Linked DNA regions of Homo sapiens: region 1 is linked to region 2. Evidence: promoter capture Hi-C in 16 types of primary human blood cells and fetal thymus (Javierre and others, 2016). All regions are on one chromosome and are shown on one strand. Each heading gives the region's core, a stretch centred on a gene start or on the middle of the fragment in contact. The rest is flanking DNA. Distances are from core to core; before and after follow the strand shown. Region 1 has its middle 6.4 kb from the start of BMF. Region 2 holds the start of BUB1B (BUB1 mitotic checkpoint serine/threonine kinase B).

Evidence for each region. The method cuts DNA at HindIII sites, captures the fragments that hold promoters and counts their contacts. A CHiCAGO score of 5 or more calls a contact.
Region 1: a fragment that was not itself captured here is called in contact with the fragment with the promoter of BUB1B in region 2 in 3 of 17 cell types (M0 macrophages, naive B cells and total B cells); the score reaches 5.9 in M0 macrophages.

Annotation. Positions count from the first base shown.
Region 1 is chr15:40,113,680-40,116,927 of GRCh38, reverse strand. No RefSeq gene overlaps it. Among named protein-coding and RNA genes, the nearest start is that of BMF, 6.4 kb to the right of the region's middle. RefSeq lists enhancers at 113-616, 942-1,001. The HindIII fragment of the contact is 4,689 bases long and covers 1-3,248 here.
Region 2 is chr15:40,159,412-40,162,395 of GRCh38, reverse strand. BUB1B (BUB1 mitotic checkpoint serine/threonine kinase B) reads right to left here and starts at 1,327. Exons shown (of 23, transcript NM_001211.6): 1 at 1,141-1,327. The coding sequence starts at 1,175. RefSeq lists enhancers at 172-936, 944-1,073, 1,094-1,193. The HindIII fragment of the contact is 2,113 bases long and covers 419-2,531 here.

The DNA.
Region 1 (3,248 bases), core at 1-2,500, 45 kb after region 2:
ATGCAGGAAGAAACCACCGTAGGAAGAGAGATGAAGAGATAAAGAAAGAGTGCTACGTGAGGAGGAGGGAGACAGAAGTTGGCAGAGAGGGAAAGAACATCCAGGACAGGCAGAAGAGAAACTACAGGGACAAGGATCTCTCCTCAGTTCCAGAAGATTCCATGGCAATAGAGGGAGGAAAGTGGCTAGGCGTGGTGGCTCACGCCTGTAATCCCAGCACTTTGGGAGGCAGAAGGGGCGGATCACCTGAGGTCAGGAGTTCGAGACCAGCCTGGGTAATATGGCGAAACTCCGTCTCTGCTAAAAATGCAAAAATTAGCCAGGCATGGTGGCTCACACTTGTAATCCCAGCTACTGGGGAGGCTGAGGCGGGAGGATCACTTGAACCCAGGAGGCCGAGGTTGCAGTGAGCCAAGACTGTGCCACCACTGCACTCCAGCCTGGGTAACAAAGTGAGACCCTGTTTCAAGAAAAAAAATAATAATAGAGGGAGGAAAGCAAAGCCCAGTGTAGCATGTCTGCCAGTCGGATGGGCTGAGACCCCCACATCAGAGACATCCTGGCTGTGTTGGCAGGCTCTTGAGGGCCTTCTTCTCGCTGGCCCACGTCATTGAAAGGTAGCGATAAGGTTATGGTACCTGCCTGGGACTCCCCTCCCTTGCTTGTCTCCTGCATCCGAGAGGACTTTTCTCTGAGCCCACAGGATCTCCGAATGGTCCTTAGCTGAGAAGCCCCCTTTAGCCGGACCCCCCTCACCCACCCGGCAGTGATGAGAAAATGGACCTGTACAAATCTCATCTAAGTAGCAGACTGCAGTCCCATGTCCAGTCATCACATTAGCCTAAAGCTACAGGGCCAGGGCAGGGGCTGGAAGACAGGGCAGCCTGTTGAATGTAGTCAAGGATAGAAGTAGGAACCGAAAATGTGCCTTAGAGCTGATGCTGGGCCGCTGGACCGCTTCCTGCGGGTGATGCAATCGCTTCTGCCACAGGTGGTGGTGGCAGTGGGAGTGTTTGCAACTGAGAGAGCTGGAATGTACCTCGCTAGGCTGCCTCAGGCTTGGCCTTCCTGTTCAGGGGGCAGCCGGGGTCAGTGTGTTATTGATGGGGGAAGGGGAGTGAATCCTGTCTGTGGGGAGGGACTGAGTGTGCCTAAAGGCAGTAGAGGTATGGGATGTTAGCACTGGCTTTCATGCCAGGGTGGCTTCAGACTGTGCTTCTGTTGCTGTGGGCCCATACTCGGAGAAGTAAACTTAGTTTTCTTAAGTGTAAAACACGGCTGATGGTAATAGGTCTATCTTGAGGTTGTTAAAGCCTGAATGAGACACTGTTTGACACAACATGTCTGGCACATAGTAAATGCTCAGCAGGTGGGAGTTGTTTTCATTACAGCCCAGGGACCTGGGCAGGATTGCGCTAAGAGGTGGGTGTCAGCCCCAAATTCTCTTTTTTTTTTTTTTTTTTTTTGAGATGGAGTTTTGCTCTTGTTGCCCAGGCTGGAGTGCAATGGCATGATCTCAGCTCACCGCAACCGCCGCCTCCCAGGTTCAAGCGATTCTCCTGCCGCAGCCACCCGAGTTGCTGGGATTATAGGCATGTGCCACCACGCCCAGCTAATTTTGTATTTTTAGTAGAAGATGGGGTTTCTCCATCTCCAGTCAGGCTGGTCTCGAACTCCCGACCTCAGGTAATCCATCCACCTCGGCCTCCCAAAGTGCTGGGATTATAGGCGTGAGCCACCATGCCCGGCCCGTCAGCCCTAAATTCTAATCCCTGCTAAGCCAGACTATTTACCCGAGTTATGCCACCTCTGAATCCATAAGGGCATATAAATGCATGTTGGAAAAGATCACCTGTGGTAGCAGAGCTGGGAGCTGAATCCAGATCTCCTGACATCTAGCCTAGAGCTCTTTCTGTTTTTTTGTTTGTTTGTTTTTGTTTTTTGTTTTTTAAGAGACAGGGTCTCACTCTGTCACTCACCCTGGAGTGCAGTGGTGCAATCGTATCCCCCAACTCCTAGGCTCAAGTGATTCTCCTGTCTCAGCCTCCCAAGTAGCTAGAACCATAGGCGTGCACCACCATGTCTAGCTAATTTTTAAATGTTTTGTAGAGAAAGGGTCTCACTATGTTGCCTAGGCTGGTCTTAAGTGATTCCCCTGGCATCAAATAATCTTCCTGGCTTGGCTTCCCAAAGTGCTGGGATAAATAGACATGAGCTACTGCACCTGGCCACACTAGCCCAGAGCTCTGTCTACTCCACCTGATAACAGGTGGGCTTTGAGAGCAGGGAAATGGGGCTTCAGACATTTCCAGATGCTTCTATGCGAGGAAAGGCAAGACCATTTGGGAGAAGGCTGTTTTTCCTTAGCTTGTTTAGTTCCAGCTCTTCTTGCTATACCCTCCTCTAATCCTCAGTGTCTCTTTGAGCATGTGTATAGGTGTGTATATGCAAGTTCATGTTTGAGAAAAAAGGGTTCTGATGTGTTCAATGATCCCCAAGGGGATTGTGTCTGTACCTCCAGCTGCTGGCGTGGAGCCTAACATATGGCAAGTGCTCAGTAAATGTCTGATAAACTCACACCTGAGGGATTGAACCCCTGTCTCATGAAGCCCCTTCCAGAGAGAGACCCTGTTCCCCTCCAGGACAGTGGGGACTAAGGAGTTGGCTGAAAAACAGCTGATCTAACTCACTTCTCAGCCCAGATCATCTTGAACACCAAGTTCAAAACCTGGGACACTTGAAGCCGGGAAGGGACTGGTCCCCAGCTCTTCTGGGTGGCAGGTTTCCTTGATAGCAATAAATCTGGCCTCAGCTAGAAATTTCTGAGATTTCCCTGCCAATCCCAAAAAGAAGTGTGTACTGTTGTAGTGATGTACATTTGACCAGGAAAAAGGCTGACATCCTGGGAGAAGTAGAGTTAAAGAAAGTGTATTTCTGTTGGATTTCTTCATTCCTTGGCAGGATAAAGCTAACTTCTTTTCCACGGGCTGCACACTGGGTTGAGGAGAGGGGAGCTGAGGATACTGCCCTGAGGGCCTGGCTCATAGTTTTTCCAGTAAATTTGTCTCCAAAGACTTAGTGAGTGACTCATGTGCCAAGCCTGGAGCAGAGCAGTCGGAGGGTATCAAGGAGTAGATGGCATCACCCTTGTCTTCTTGGAGGATCATCTCGCTGGTGAGAAGAAACTCAGTCAGATAAGCTGGGTGCAGTGGCTTGCACCTGTAATCCCAGCTACTCAAGAGGCTGAG
Region 2 (2,984 bases), core at 78-2,577:
CCTTTGCTCAAAACCTTCCAATGACTTTTGATTACAACTAGAGTAAAAGCTAAGTCCTTACAATCTGCATCTTCACCATTTTTACATAATATCCTTTTACTCTTCTAGTTAATTCTGCTCCAGTGACAATGGCCTTGGACATGCCAGGTGCAACTTCCTCCCCTAGCTCTCACCCTCAGCCTTTGTACTCTCCTCAGATATAGAACCTCTAGCTTTTGAGATTCCTTCAAGTCTTGACCAAAGTGACATCTCCTCAGTGAGACTCCAGTGTTCAAGTTAAATTGCACCAATCCCCACCCCCAATATTCACTACACCCAGTTGCTTTATTATTTTTTTTAGTACTGACCACATCTCCACCTAACAGTTTGTCTTTATTGTCTGACTCCCCCACCTTCATCCCATGCCAGAACTTAAGCTTCATGAGGGTTGAGATTTTTGTGTCTGTATATTTGCTGCACTCAGAGCTTAGCCAAAAAAATACTTGTTACATGAATGAAAGAGCCCATGACATAGCACTTATCTAGGTATTGCGGGCACCACAGTGAAAACACATACAGATTTCCAACCTAGAACTGCAATATAGTTTTTTTAATACAAGGAAAAGCCGCAAACATGCAGAAAAAGGCTTTTAGATCTCTATGTTATTGGCATAATTTAGATCTCTATGATATTGGCTAAAGGCTTTCAGATCTCTGTGCTATTGGCATAGCACCTGCCATTTGTTGAGCGCTTATTTGGAAGCAGTTACTTAACAAATACTTTGAATTCCCCCAGAACCACGTAAGGCAGCATTAACATCAGCATTTTCCATACAAACGATTTGCCCAAGGTCAAACAACTAGCAGGTGGCTGAGCTGAGTTACAAACAGACAACATTGCAACTTCCAAACTCTTTGTTCCGCTGGGGTCCCGCAGCCTTCTTCGCTTTGAAGCTGGATGCGGCAGGATTCGCACGTGCCCTCAGTCCACTGCGTTTTCACCTCCACCTCCGGCATTCTACTCCAAAAGGAAGGAGGCTCCGGTGGGGTCTGTTCTGACGGTGCCGATCTCCCCCTCGACTGCTCCGAGCGGAGCCTTCTATTACCTACCAGGCCGTGTCCTCTCAGGCCCAGCCCCCAGCAGCTTTCTCCCGTACCTACCTCAGAGCACCCCCTTCCTTCTTCACCGCCGCCATCCTGCATTCCTGGCTCAGGTCCTCGTCCTGCTGCAGGCCTTTCCTCTGGGCCACAGACCGCCTGGGCTTTCTTCCGCAACCTGCCCTCGGAGCTACAGAAGCGACCAAGGCACGTACACGACTCCCTAACAAACCGGCCACCTCAAGCCCACACCCCTAGCCGCCAAGTTTCAAATTTAACGGTCCCGCGCGGTCGACGTGGCCACGCCCCTCCGCTCCTCCGTGCTCTCGCGTCTCGCCCAAGGCATTCTGGGGCTTGTAGTTTATGCCTGTTTAGTCCGCGAACTCGCGGTGCATAATGGGAATTGTAGTTTTTGGGATTCAATGGCCGTGGAAGTGCAGCAGGCTTAGGCAAAACAAATACCCCCAGGTGCTGTCTTGAGTCGCGGCTCGAAGCCGAGTCTCTGAGCCGAGCGAGGAACACTTAAAGCACCAGAACTTCTTTGCTGTTTTGAGTGTTGGGAGATGTCTCTGAGTGCTTGCACTTGGCGTGACTCTTGTAGGGTGACTACCCCTGCTGTCTGCCCCAAATCTCACCCGTCCGGAGTTCTTAGGCCACTGACCTAGCTGTTTCCTGCCCCACCCTTGAATTCAAAAAGCTGGATTCTAGTTCTGTAAAATCATACCAAATGTGCAACCTTAGGCAAGCTACATAATCTTTCTGACCATCAGTTTTCCTCATCTATAAAGTGATGATACTGTCTTGCTTTCTCTTCTGCTCAGTCCACAAGCAGTAAACACAGCCATGCTATGGTTCCCAAGGTGTTACCTCTTTTCCCCTTCAGGGGACTAGCCTTGACTGACATTAAACTGTTTGTTGCAATTTCAATTTTCTGAGGAAGAAATTGTGATAGCTCAGATGTGACCAGGGGAGTAGAGTCTTTTTGTTTGTTTGGTTGGTTGGTTTTGTTTTAGAGACAGGGTCTTCTTCTTGCTCTGTTGCCCAGGCTGGAGTGCAGTAGCCCCATCATGGGGCTACTGCATTCCAGCCTCCAACTCCCGGGGTCAAGTGATCCTCCCACCTCAGCCTCCGCAGTAGCTGCGATTACAGGCATTAGCCACCTTGAGGAAGGAACAGGGTCATTTAAGAAAGCCCAGGTACAGGGGAGTTCTCCTTTATGACTGTGGGGATGGTCAGAGAGGTGGCACTTCCCAGAGGCAGATGCTGAGGATACTGTCCACTACCCTCTGGTTCTTAGTTCCCAGCTTTCTGTCTTTGTTCATGTTATATAAGTCCTTCTTTCCTCTGAATCATCAGGACTCTTGATTCCAAAGAAGTAGAAATCCAACTTAAATCGGCCTACTCAGAAAAGGGAATTTACTGTCTTTTATATATAAAAGACTTCAGATAAAGCTTAACCCAGGACTCATGTGGACTGGGCCTCTCTCCATTTCTCGCCTCTACTCTTGTTGTTGGCTTATTGTCATTCTCCATTGGGTAACAGATTCACGACTTTATCCTTACAGGTTCAAATTCAGACTTAGGAGTCACCCTGCTTAACCCCTTCCTCCCAAACAGTCACTGGGGATAGTGGATTCAGGGCTTTGATTGTTCAGAACCAAGTCATGTGTTTCACCTTGGGACTGAGAGAGGGGAAGGGGTGATTCCTCATAGGAAATTTTGGTTACTCTTTACATCAAAGTCCTCCACATCCAGGAAGCTTTCCTGGATCATATGAGGTGTGGTGCGTGGGATTCTCTCACTGGCTCATTTTATCTCTTACCTTATGTCAGTACTGGCCTAGCACTTCATTTTCTTTCAACAGGGTGTCCTGTTCATATCTACAGCTTCTCAATTTTGACTATTTC